Linked DNA regions of Homo sapiens: all the other regions are linked to region 1. Evidence: promoter capture Hi-C in 16 types of primary human blood cells and fetal thymus (Javierre and others, 2016). All regions are on one chromosome and are shown on one strand. The core of a region is centred on a gene start or on the middle of the fragment in contact, and the rest is flanking DNA. Distances in the headings are between cores, read along the strand shown.

Evidence for each region. The method cuts DNA at HindIII sites, captures the fragments that hold promoters and counts their contacts. A CHiCAGO score of 5 or more calls a contact.
Region 2: a contact is called between a fragment that was not itself captured here and the fragment with the promoter of KCNN3 in region 1, in 8 of 17 cell types (activated CD4 T cells, M0 macrophages, naive CD4 T cells and 5 more). The highest score is 7.3, in activated CD4 T cells.
Region 3: a fragment that was not itself captured here is called in contact with the fragment with the promoter of KCNN3 in region 1 in 9 of 17 cell types (M1 macrophages, M0 macrophages, M2 macrophages and 6 more); the score reaches 9.2 in M1 macrophages.

What each region holds. Positions count from the first base shown.
Region 1 is chr1:154,868,129-154,872,215 of GRCh38, forward strand. It overlaps KCNN3 (potassium calcium-activated channel subfamily N member 3), which reads right to left and starts at 2,153. Exons shown (of 8, transcript NM_002249.6): 1 at 904-2,153. The coding sequence starts at 1,836. RefSeq lists enhancers at 1-496, 1,904-2,860, 1,933-2,022. The HindIII fragment of the contact is 14,105 bases long and covers 1-4,087 here.
Region 2 is chr1:154,594,209-154,598,512 of GRCh38, forward strand. It overlaps ADAR (adenosine deaminase RNA specific), which reads right to left. Exons shown (of 15, transcript NM_001111.5): 3 at 4,194-4,304; 4 at 3,620-3,768; 5 at 2,915-3,059; 6 at 2,597-2,787. Among named protein-coding and RNA genes, the nearest start is that of ADAR, 12 kb to the right of the region's middle. The HindIII fragment of the contact is 5,008 bases long and covers 30-4,304 here.
Region 3 is chr1:154,531,788-154,536,067 of GRCh38, forward strand. The region is part of intron 6 of TDRD10 (tudor domain containing 10); the gene reads left to right. Among named protein-coding and RNA genes, the nearest start is that of UBE2Q1-AS1, 20 kb to the right of the region's middle. The HindIII fragment of the contact is 1,517 bases long and covers 1,502-3,018 here.

The DNA.
Region 1 (4,087 bases), core at 903-3,402:
GGGAGAACTGGGGCTGAGCTGGGGCGCGGGCTTGTGGGGACCGCCTGGGAAGCCCTGTCATCCCGTCCCAAGGAGAGGTGCTCCCCCAGCTGATTCCAAGGCGGCGCCCAGCTGCTCTGCCCAGGTAACACCTGTAGCCATTTTTATCAGGAGATGTTTACGAAGCAGCAGCAGGTTTATTCTGAGTCCTCTCTCCTGAGGGAAAGGACCACTGATTTCCTCCACCTATATTTTTACCCCATGCCCTCAGGAGACCCAGGTCATGGATGGTTTTCTATTTTGCCCGAGACTCTCTGAGAAGAGGAGGGAAACAGAAACTTGGGAAGAGATGGAGAAGACAGGGAGAGAAGGGACTTGGGCAATGGTACGGAATCCCCACCCCCCACCCAGACATTTATTTCTTTTTTATCCTCAGGAAAATGGAGTGGAGCAGGGAGGGGAGGAAAGAAGGGGAAGTCGCAGGAACTGGCAAACACATGAAGGCGGAGTGTAATTAATTGGTGCGTTAAGCTGCTGGGTTATGCTTTAGTACGAGTGAGCCAGGAGGAAAAGCGATTTCTCAGAAGGGATTATTGAATCCTCCCTAACAGAGAGTCTGCAAATTAGACACAGTGTGTGGGGATGTCCCCTACCCCCCAGAGGAAGCTAGGAATGAATTCTCCCGGGATCAAGAAGGAAAACCACGGGAAGTTAGAGTGTTGAATATAACTGAGCAAGCGCCTCTCACCACCACCACCACCTCTCTCTCCCAGTCTCCCTCCCAATCTCTCAATCTCTCTCTCTCTCTCTCTCTCTCTCTCTCTCTCTCAATCTCTCTCTCTCACAATCCCCCTCTCTCAATCCCTCTCTTGCTACCTACATATTCCTTTTGTTCAAGGTATAAAGAGAAACCACAGCCCCTACCTTTGAGTACAAACCCCAAGAGAGCTCGGTCTCTATCACCATAACAACAATTCCAAACATCCCAAAAATCAGAGCATAGTCACTCAGTCGCTTTCTCTTTTCAAACAGGGCCCTCCTGTGTCCCAGCTTATAGCCAATGTTTTGGTTTTTCCGCTTGTTGGCTTTGGGGAAGGTGGTGCTGCTGGCGGTGGTGCCGGCATGCTGGTGGTTGTGGGTGGCATTAGGGTGATGGAGCAGGGTCTGGTGGGCATGGTTGTCCTCCCGGGAGGAGATGACGATCTCCGGGGGGTTGCTAGGGCTGAAAAGCTGGAGGGGTTGGCCCTCAGTCTCGGCCTCGATGAGGTTCCTCCGGGAGGCGCTGAGGCGGCTGAGGGGCTTCATGACCCCACCGCTATACTTGCAGGAGCTCATGGCGATCTCCGTGAAGGGGTTGCTGTCCCGCCGGTGCACCAGGGGGCTGGCCTGTCGGTGCCGGCTGCCTCCGCCAGGCCCACTTGTAGCTGTGGAACTTGGAGAGTGGCCAAGCAAGTGGTCATTGAGATTGAGCTGGCTGCCTTGCCTGGAGGAAGGGTGGAGGATGGCGGTGGAGTTGGACGAAGGGGGGGCCCTGAAAGCGGTGGGAGAGGAGTGCAGCAGGCCAGGGTGGACGGGCTGGCTCTGGAGTTGGGCGAGCTGAGACAGGGGATGCGGTGGCTGCTGCTGCTGCTGCTGCTGCTGCTGCTGCTGCTGCTGCTGAAGCTGCGGAGGCTGAGGCTGCAGCGAGGGTCCCAGGGGCTGCTGGGGGGCTGCTGGTGGCGCTGGCGGTGGTGGCTGCTGCTGCTGTTGCTGCTGCTGCTGCTGCTGCTGCTCATCCCCAGAGGATGGACAGGGGCACTTGGGGTCTTCATCCAAGTCCCCCACCCCCGAGTCATGGAAGTGCCCAGAAGTGTCCATCTTGGGGCCTGGCTGTATTCCCTGCAGCACAAGCCCCCACCCCAAAGCCACCCTCGCTCCAAAGATGTCCTCAAAGAAAGCCAGGCATCCAATCTCCCCCACCAGTATCTTGGCTCCAGTCCTCTCTTTGGCTTGCTTCGGTTCTCTGGGGCTGCCTGGAGTCCAGACGCTGCCACTCAAGAATGCATTGTATTGGGCAGGGAGGGAGAGCAGGAGGGGAGCTTGGAGAAAGAAGAGGGGGTGAAAGAACTCTCTCAGGAGGTGGTCCTCTAGGAGCGTGTGAGGCCAGGCTCAGCTTCACTCCTCGCTGGCTCAATAGCTTCGCTCGCCTCCTCCTGCCACTGTTACATTGTAAGCCAAGCCCACTTATTAGCAGCTGGTCTCATTGGCTTGGCTTAACTCTCCAACCTCCTCCTAGCTCCGCCCCCCGCATAGGCTCCTCCCCAGAGGAGGGGCCTGGCGTCCTGGGCTCCGGCCCCAGTGGCGGCGCAGCGAGGACTGGGAACTGTAGTTTTTGCTCCCCCACCCCGGAGCTGAGCCGCTGTCCTCTTTCCTCTGACAGGTATGGCCACAACCCTTAAGCCCACGGCGATAAGGGATGTTCGCTCACGCTGGGCGATGGGGAGGAGGGACAGAGGGCCTCCGAAGGAGGGGAGGTGTGCACCCTGATGAGGGGGCAGACGGAGGGGAAGGCAAACATTTATTAACCACCAGGGTTTACGATAGGTTGTTTCACATATATTATCCGGATACAGTCTCCAAACACCCAAGGAGGTGGGCAGTATGGTCTCATTTACAAAGCCTGATGCTTAGAGGTGTTGAGTAACAACGTCAAGGTCACAGAAGCAGGGGGGATCCACACCTTCTAACACCCGGTGGATAAACTCACCTACCATTGACTGAGTGCCTACGCCTCGTGTTCAGGGTCCTCTCTGTTATTTCCAACCCTCACATCAACCCCACAAAAATGATGTCATCACTCTCCTTTTACAGATGAAAATTGGAAGAAGAAGAAGAAGAAGGAGAAGGAGAAGAAGGAGAGAAAGGAAAGTGGAAAAAACACTCAAACGCTCAAACATAGATATGTAACTTGTCAGATGTCATCCCGCTTGTAATTAAAGATGCTGGGATTTGAACTTAGTCAGTCTGACCCCACAGATCAGATACTTTCTCCCAGGATGCATTTCCACTATGATATTCAGTACAAAGTGGTTGTTCAATAAATATTGTTCAAATGTTAGTTGGGGAAAACAAAAGAGAAGCTGCTGAGGAAGAACTGGCCTCTCCAAAGCAGGGTGTGTGAAGTGGACCATGGCTCCAGCCCCTTCCCTAACAGCTGGGTGTGTAGTCACAGGGGGATCTGGCAGGAAGACTGAAGATTCCCCCATGGTCATTCCCTGCCTGATTTGCCCCATGGGGCTCTGAGAGTCAGAACTAGGAACAGCTGCTGGCTTCCCAGGTTCAGAACCATCATCATCAAGTATTTATTAAGCCCCCACTGTGTGCAGAGGGGGTTCCAAAGGATGGGACCAGAGCTGAATTCATTTTCATTTCTAACCACAGCAGCCTTAGGAATCAGAAAGGAAGTCACCATGAGGGAATTCCCCAGAACACCTGGGGTTTTAAAAGGCAGGCCTCTTCCTCTCTGGCTCTTGATTCCCCATCACCCTTTGGCCTCTGTCCAGCTCCCTCCCTCGATGGGAAGAGGAAAGGGTAGGAGATCCATGCACACATACACAGACACACATCCAGAAAACATGTAAGCAGGTGGACATATGTGCACATGTGTACATGGTTGTGTGCACACACTAGCCCATGCATGCACACATGCACACATATACACATAGGAAGCTCCTAAAACAGCATTCCTGACTGGTAAGCAGCAAGTGTCCAGATCAGGGAGGGACAGAGCCCCCCCAAAATGAGCCCAGAGTCCCCTCTGTATATCAGTTCTCACCTCTCCAATCCCCCATTAACCCTGATGATTGAGAGCTAAATATTACTTGTAATACAAGCCACGACCCCAGATACGTGACAATTACTCTTGCACAATAATCTTGATTCTGGCCAGGCATGGTGGCTCATGCCTATAATCCCAGCACTTTGGGAGCCCAAGGCAGGAGGGTTGATTGAAGTCAGGAGTTCGAGACCAGCCTGGACAACATAGCAAGACCCAGACTCTACAAAATTTTTTAAATTAGCTGGACATGGTGGCGAGTGCCTGTAGTCCAGCTACCCAGGAGGCTGAGGG
Region 2 (4,304 bases), core at 1,284-3,783, 270 kb before region 1:
ATTTAAAGTAACAAGATAGCATTTTTATAAGCTTTTTTCCTTAATGACTTTAAAATGGACAAGTTGGATGCCAAACATGTGAAAATTCAAACAGTTAAGAGTGTACAATAAAAGTGTCCCTCCTTCCCCAGAAGCAAACACAGTTGCCAGTTTTTTCGATCCTTCAAGAAAATATTCTAGACATATACAGACAATCTTCACCTCTCCCCTCACTTTACACCTTGCTTTTCCACTTTGTGATAGACCTTAGAGATTAAGAAAACATGCCGGTTGCATGGCAAGAGTGATGCCATCTTGATGCAAAACCACTATGACCACCAATATCTGACTCCCGCATCCCAAAGTGTTGGGTAGCATAAATAATTCCACACAAAGATGTCTACCAAGCCTCCCCACCAGCTAGTGCTCATAAGTTTCACAAGAAAGTATAATGTGTGACCAGCTGCATGTTTAACCAAAAAAGCCTCTATAGAAAGCATACTTTCTGGAGGGTAAGTGCAGGGATCCACCATCTTGCAGCCACCCAAGACATCATTTCTGTTCCTAAGTCCCTATTAAATGTTTACTTCTGAGAAACTGAATTTGTCAGCTTCTATTCAATGAAATACTATGCAGCTATGCAAGAAGTCTGGTAAGTAAAGGAGTCAACGTATAAAACAGAAGATATACTTGTTTAAAAAGACAAAAGGGAAAATGTGCTAGTTATGCACAGCAATTTCTAGAAGGACTCAAGAAACTGGTATAGTCATGTACTGCATAACAGTGTTTTGTTCAATGATAAATCACACATATGACAGGGGCCCCGTAAGATTATGATGGAGCTGAAAAATTCTTATCACCAAGTGCAGGGCTCTGTAACCTGTTAGGAACCTGGGCACACAGGAAGAGGTGAGTGGCGAGCAAGAAAGCATTCTGGTCCGAGCTCCGCCTCCTGTGGGATCAGCAGCAGCATGAGATTCTTGTAGGAGTGTGAACTCGACTGTGAACTGTGAATGCGAGGGATCTAGGCTACACGCTCCTTATGTGTTTACTATATTTTTATCATTATTTCAGCGTATACTCCTTCTACTTCTAGAAAAATAAGTAACTAAAAAAAGCCTCAGGCAGGTATTCCAGAAAGCACTGTTACCATAGGAGATGACGGCCCCCATGCATGTTATTGCCCCTGAACACCTTACAGTGGGACAAGACGTGGAGGTGGAAGACAGTGATACTGAGGATCCTGACCCTGTGTAGGCCTAGGCTAACAGCTAATGTATTTTCATCTTAGCTTTCAACAAAAAAGTTTAAAAAGTTAAAAAAATAAAAAAATTTACAAACAGAAAAAAGACTATAGAATTAAGGATATAAACAAAGGAAATATTTTTGGATAGCAGTACAACATGTTTGTGTTTTAAGCTAAGTATTATTACAAAAGGAACAAAAAATAAAAAAGTTAATAAAGTAAAAAATAAAGTAAAAATAAAGTAAAAAAGTTACAGTAAGCTAAGGTTAATTTATTAAAGAAAAATATTTTAAATAAATGTAGTTAGCCTAAGTGAACAGTGTTTACAAAGCCTACATTAGTGTACAGTCATGTCCTAGGCCCTCATATTCATTCTCCACTCACTGGCTGACTCACCCACAGCAACTTCTAGTCCTGCAAGCTCCATTCATGGCAGGCGCCCTATACAGGTGTAGTATTTTTTTAATCCTTTATGCTGTCTTTTTACTGTATCTTTTTGCTGTTTAGATAGACACCAATACTTACCAGTGTGTTGCAGCTGCCCACAGTATTCACTACAGTTACATGCTGTACAGGTTTGTAGCCTAGGAGCAACCGGCCATACCATACAGCCTGTACGTGTGTAGGAGCCCATGCCATCTAGGTTTATGTAAATACACACTGATGTTCTCACAACAACAAAACCATGCTTCTCAGACCGCATCCCAGTTGCTAATGCAGGGCTATAGTAATATATGGGTCTAGGGAGGGAAACTAGAAGTCTGAGACGGAAATGAGACTTTTCATTGAAATGACTACTTTTTCAATCAGCTTGAATGATTTTTTTCAAGATGGAGTCTTGCTCTGTTGCTCAGGCTGGAGTGCAGTGGTGCGATCTCAGCTCACTGCAACCTCCGCCTCCCAGCTTCAATCAATTCTCCTGTCTGCCTCCCGAGTAGCTGGGATTACAGGCACCCGCTGCCACGCCCAGCTAATTTTTGTATTTTTAGTAGAGACAGGGTTTCCTCATATGGTCCGGCTGGTCTTGAACTCCCGACCTCAGGTAATCTACCTGCCTCAACTTCCCAAAGTGCTGGGATTACAGGCGTGAGCCACCATGTCTGGCCTGAATGATTTTTTAATGTACCTATACATTTCTTTAAAAATTAAAACTAGTCAAAAAATTAAAAAGGATCATGCTTACTGGAAGAGTGAACGCATTCACTCTTGGCAGGTCTATTGTCTTCTAAGAGGCCGTGGAGACAGGGCTGGACTTGTTTCCCTCAACTCGCCCCTTCTGTCCTACACAGCTAAAGCACACCCTTGTTTTCCCTGGGTTACAGACCATCCCCAACTGGTGACACATGCATTAGCCAGGACTAGGACACTCACTTGGGCTCGTGAGGAGGTCCGGACTGGTCGACCAACTTGAATTCAGCAGCAAAGCCATGGGAGCGGGCGTACTCCAAAAGGCCACCCACAGGGTTGGTGTTCAGGTATCTCACGAGCTCGCCAATCTTCCTGACCTTGTTGGGCATCATGGATTCCAAGTTATCAAGTGACTCTGAGATCATACCTTCAGGCTAAAGGAGAATCCATCAAACAGAGGAGCCATAAACACTTCAGGAAATGTTGAGGGAGTCACTGGCAATCTTAAACCACTCAGTTGCTAAAAATGACCTGTATCTTTTGAGTAGGAAAACGCCCTACCTGGTTATCAGAAGCCATGGAGTTGGTCGCCTCCCCATGCAGGGCCTTCATGGCTTCCTCTGCGGCCATCTGCTTTGCCACTTTCTTGCTGGGAGCACTCACACTGGGGAAAGTTTGGGCTCCCACTGCAACACAGTATTGGAACCTGACAGGAGATGAAGCACGTAGAAGGATTAAAATGGTTTTGACTGAGGAGCCTGACCTAGCCTCTGCCAGGCTGCCATCCTCCACTACTGGTAATTTCCTTGAACACATCACCTCTGTGCAGTCACATCTCATGCAGTCACTTCTGCCTTGAACAGCCAGTGTCTCTTAGCCTGGCTGACCCCTTTCAACATTTAAGCATCAACCTAGTTTCACCTCTTCCAGGAACACTTCTCTTGAACATGTGAGTCTATAGACCCACAGGCAGAGAGCTTCTCAGGTCCTGTACCTTTCTGTCCCACCAACAGTGAGTGACCTCCAAGCCGTGAACCTCCCTAGTGCTTATAGAGGAGATAGAGGGTGGGCCAGGAATTCCCTTTGAATTCCTAATCCCTAATTGTCTGCCTCACAAGCAGCAACCAGGACCTCAGAGCCCTCCTTTCCCCATTTTGAAACAGGAGAAATTGGTCAATCTGCCATCCCTGAGGAGGCAAGGAAGAAAATGTGTCTCTTTTTCTTTCTGAGAAAACCTCAGCTGGACAGAGGACACGTAGGACATACTTGGGTTCATGGGCAGGGCCTTCTTTGGACAGGAGACGGAATTCGCAGGAGTTCCCCAATTTGTGCATACACTCAAGCAGTGTGGTGACGGGGCTCTTCCCAGAAAAGAAGGATGTGGCTGAAGGGGTGGGGGTCTGGGACTCTGCAGTCTAGAGAAAATGAGAGACAAGAAGAAAACAAAACTAAGAAAACACTGGTTAGTCCATCACAGAAGAAGGGATGGGGATGGGGGACTTTATTCCCACCACCTGTCAAGGGGTTGGCTTCCCAAAGTTAAAGGGGCTGCTGGAGCTCTCATTCCGCATCTTCCAAGAGAGGAGATTGGCCTCAATAAACTTTCAGGTCTCTTTCAAGTCCGAAATTCTGTAAATCCAATTATGTTGGGACAGGAGCAGACAGAGGAGCTGGGTATGAGAGGAGGAAAGGTGGGCTGGCGAGATAGGGTAGAGGGAAGAGTGGGAAGCTGACTCCGAGATGGTGTCAGTTGTTTAGGCTGGGATTGCCTCAAGGGAGTCAGTTACAATCCAGACACTGACAGGGAACTGATCCTCCCAGATGGCAGGAGGACACCTACCTTCTCTGATTCTTTCTCTGTGGAATAGTGGGATGATTCTTCTGATTTTCCACTGTCCTTGGCTTTGGCTTCCTCTAGCAGAATTGTCATGGCTTTCATAGCTGCATCCTG
Region 3 (4,280 bases), core at 1,010-3,509, 340 kb before region 1:
ATTTTACAGAGAGCTGATTGGTCTGTTTTGACAGGGTGCTGATTGGTGCGTTTACAATCCCTGAGCTAGACACACAAGTTCTCCACCTCACCACTAGATTAGCTAGATACAGAGTGTCGATTGGTGTATTCACAAACCCTGAGCTAGACACAGAGCGCTGATTGGTGTATTTACAATCCCTTAGCTAGTCATAAAGGTTCTCCAAGTACCCACTAGACTCAGGAACCCAGCTGGCTTCACCCAGTGGATCTCGCACCGGGGCCACAGGTGGAGCTGCCTGCCAGGCGGGTGCTGTGCGCCCACACTCCTCAGCCCTTGGGTGGTTGATAGGACCAGGTGCTGTGGAGCAGGGGGCGTTGCTCATCGGGGAGGCTCAGGCAGCGCAGGAGCCCATGGCGGGGTGGTGGGGAGACTCAGGCATGGCGGGCTGCAGGTCCCAAGCCCTGCCCTGCGGGGAGGCAGCTAAGGCCTGGTGAGAAATCAAGCGCAGCACCAGTGGGCCAGCACTGCTGCGGGACCTGGTGCACCCTCCGCAGCTGCTGGCCTGGGTGCTAAGCCCCTCACTGCCCGGGGCCGCTCTGAGTGCGGCCCGCAAAGCCCACGCCCACCCAGAACTCTAGCTGTCCTGCAAGCACCGCGCGCAGCCCTGGTTCCCACCTGTGCTTCTCCCTCCACACCTGCCTGCAAGCCGAGGGAGCCAGCTCTGGCCTCGGCCAGCCCAGAGAAGGGCTCCCACGGTGCAGCGGCGGGCTGAAGGGCTCCTCAAGCGCGGCCAGAATGGGCGCCGAGGCTGAGGAGGCACCGAGAGCGAGCGAGGGCTGCGAGGGCTGCCAGCACGCTGTCGCCTCTCATTTTTTTCATTCCATGTGAAATTTTCCTGGTTCTTGGTATGATGAGTGAGTTTCACTGGAAACTTGGACATTTTCTTGTTACGTTGCTAGACTAGATTTTGTATACACCTTGTGTTTTAACTGGCTTCCTCTGATGCTGCTCCCACAGGGGAACACGGTACTGCCTCGCTGCTGCCAGGTGAGGATGGAAGTCAGGCTCCCTACTCAGCCTCTAAGGCGGCAGCGAGCCCCTTGTTACTGCCAGTTCTAGTTTGTGGTCTCCACTGACATCTTGGCGTGGATGGCTTCATTACCGCTGAGGAAAGTCTTGACTCTCCACTACACTTCTGACACCCCCCCCAGTAGGGAGAGAGAGGGGGGCTTTCTCTCTGTGAGGTGGGTATGGAAGTCCAGGATTCCCAAGTGGTTTCTATTGACACCCAGGCAGGGTGGTGGTAGGGAGAGACCGGTTTCTTTATTGGGTAGGGGATGAAATTCCTGGCTGCCTGCTTGGCCCTTTGTGACACCATCAGGGTGGGGGTATTGGGCGACTCATCCCAGCCCCATGAGGGCAGAAGTCTGGGCCCTGCATGCTGTCTTTGTTGGCATGCGTGGAGGTGGGATCTCCTTGTTGGTGGCATTTAGCTGGAGTAAAGGAGTTATTATCTACAAGCTTTCTGTCTTCCTAGCCTGTCTCTTCTGGTGCTTTGGCTAGAAAGAGCAGGCTTTTGTTGGGTTTTTTTTTTTTTTTTTTCTGGACCTACTGGTGTTTCTGGGTTGCTGGCCTCTTCAATTCTAAGTTTGGAATATATAAAGCAAAAGGAAAACCCAGAGAAGTCATCACCACGTTGTACCCTGGGTTCCAAGGTCTCTGGTCAGCCTGTTCCCTTCTCTCCATCTTTCAGAGTCTTCTTATGTTTGTTTTACATGTAATGTCCTGGGCTCTTAGTTGTGTTTAACAAAACTAAGATGAAGTATGTATATTTCATCTTCTCAGAGTGGAGGTTCTAAGAATGGTTTTTATTTATTTATATTTTTAGAGCAGGGTCTTGCTCTGTTGCCCAGACTGGAGTGCAGTGGTGTGATCTGAACTTACTGCAGCCTCGAACTCCTGGGCTCAAGCAGTCCTGCCTCAGCCTCGTGAGTAGCTGGGACTACAGGCGTGTACCACCATGCCCAGCTGATTTGGCCTCAAGCAATCCTCCTGCTTTAGCCTCCCAAAGTGCTGGGATTGCAGGGCAGCCACTGTGCCCAGCCATATATATATATATATATATTTTTTTTTAATTTTCTATTGTTTGTAGAGATGGGGTCCCACTATGTTGCCCAAGCTGGTCTTGAACTCCTGGCAAGCAATCCTCGTGTCTCCACTTCCCAAACTGCTGGGATTATAGGCGTGAGACCCCCCAGCCGTATTTTTAAATGGGAAAAAAAATGAAGAATATTTCATGACACATGAAAATTGTATGAAATTCAGTTTGTGTCCATGAAACATTCCTGGCATGCAGCCTCAGCCATTTGTTTACAGATTGCCTGTGGCTGCTTCCTCACTACAGCAGCAGAGTGGACTCATGACAGACAGTAAGGCCCCCAAAATCTAAAATATTTACTATCTGGCCCTTTGCAGAAAAAGTTTGCCAGTTCCTGGGTTAAGATCTAGGCTATTTTTTAAAAAACAAAAATAAACAGGATGAAAATGCCTGGAAATCAATGCAAGAAAGAAACAACCTAATAGAAAAATGGGCAAGAGCTAGGAATAGGCACCTTTTGTAGGTGAAGATGCATAAAAGCCAGGCTGCAACTTTCCCGTTGCTTACCACGAGGTGGCAGTTTCTGACAACACCTGGTGGTTTTCCATAGCCTGCTCCGATCAAGTCAGCCACCTTTGATGCTCCTGGTTTCCATGGCTTTGCCCATCCTGGTAGAACTATCCGCTGAAGGAGTGGGGAGTGGGGAAGCCCCAGATGCTCACTGTTTTCGTACAAAGGTCAGTCGTTGTTGTTATTGTTTTCTTTTTAATAGATGTTTTCAATTTCTTGTATGCTTCAGTCAATTTCCAGAGTCCTGAAGTGATTGTTTTTGACAATTTGTCAAGATTTGTTATTGCTTTTTGGGGAGAGGATTTGTTGATTGAAATATTTTGTAGTGAAATTGTTTTAAAGAAAAGAAAAGGTAAAATTAGAAGATAAGCTTACGTGGCACAACACGCATCCAGGCAGTGTTCAGGTCAGCGTGGGGGAGAGATTATCAAATGATATAAGATAATTTCCCATGGGTGAAGGATGTGAGTTTTCAGATACAAAGCAGCCAATGAGTGCCCAGGATAATGAATGGGAAAATAAAAACCTACATGAAGGCACTTTACAGAAGTATTTTAGAATACTAGGGATAAAGCTTTAGGAAGAGAATCCACATTGAAGGATATGGAATCAGGTGGTGTGATTGAATTCTTCAGGAAAATAATATCCAAGCCCAAACAAGTCAGTCAAGAATAAGGGTAGCACTTTGGGAGGCCGAGGTGGGCGGATCACTTGAAGTCAGGAGTTTGAGACCAGCCTGGCTAACATGGTGAAACTCCATCTCTATTAAAAATACAAAAATTAGCCAAGCGTGGTGGTGCACACCTGTAATTCCAGCTACTCGGGAGGCTGAGGCAGGAGAATCCCTGGAACCTGGGAGGCAGAGGTTGCAGTGAGCTGAGATCATGCCACTGCACTCCAGCCTGGGCATCAGAGTGAGACTCCATCTCAAGAAAAAAAAAAAAAGAGAGAGAGAATATAAGGGTAAGCCATCTGCAGTGGTGTGTACCTGTAATCCCAGTGCTTTGGAATTTGGGATTTGGGAAGCTGAGGTGGGAGGATTGCTTCAGGCCAGGAGTTTGAGAACATCCTGGGCAACCCTGTCGACAAAAAATGTGCCGGGTGTGGTGGCACACACATGTAGTCCCAGCTACTGGTGAGGCTGAGATGGGAGGATCACTTGACCTGAAGGAGTTTGAGGTTGCAGTGAGCTATGATTGTGCCAGCACTCCAGCCTGGGTAACAAAGTAAGACACTGTCACTTTTAAAAAAAGGTTGAAAAAGACTTGCTCAGAAAGATAGGGTCTCAAAAAATGTGTGCCCCATGTACCTGTTCTCAGAAAGCTATGAAGGAGTGTGTTCCAACAAAAATGAATCAGTAAGCCAAAACAAGACGGGATCTGGTATCCAACCCAGATCCAAGAGGAGAGAGATGAGAGGCTTCCCAGATTGGCCAAAGGCAGTCCTGGAACAGTTGCTGTGCAGCAGGCAGTCCAGGGCAGAGCAGGACGGGGTGAGACTCCAGCGGTGACGTTGGCAGGAAGAAAAATGTAAAATTGAGAGGAGCGGTATTATGAAGAGCCACTGGAGGTTATAGGAAAACTTAGCCAAAGATTCAAGGAAATCCAAGTAAATGGACTGGGGAAAAAGC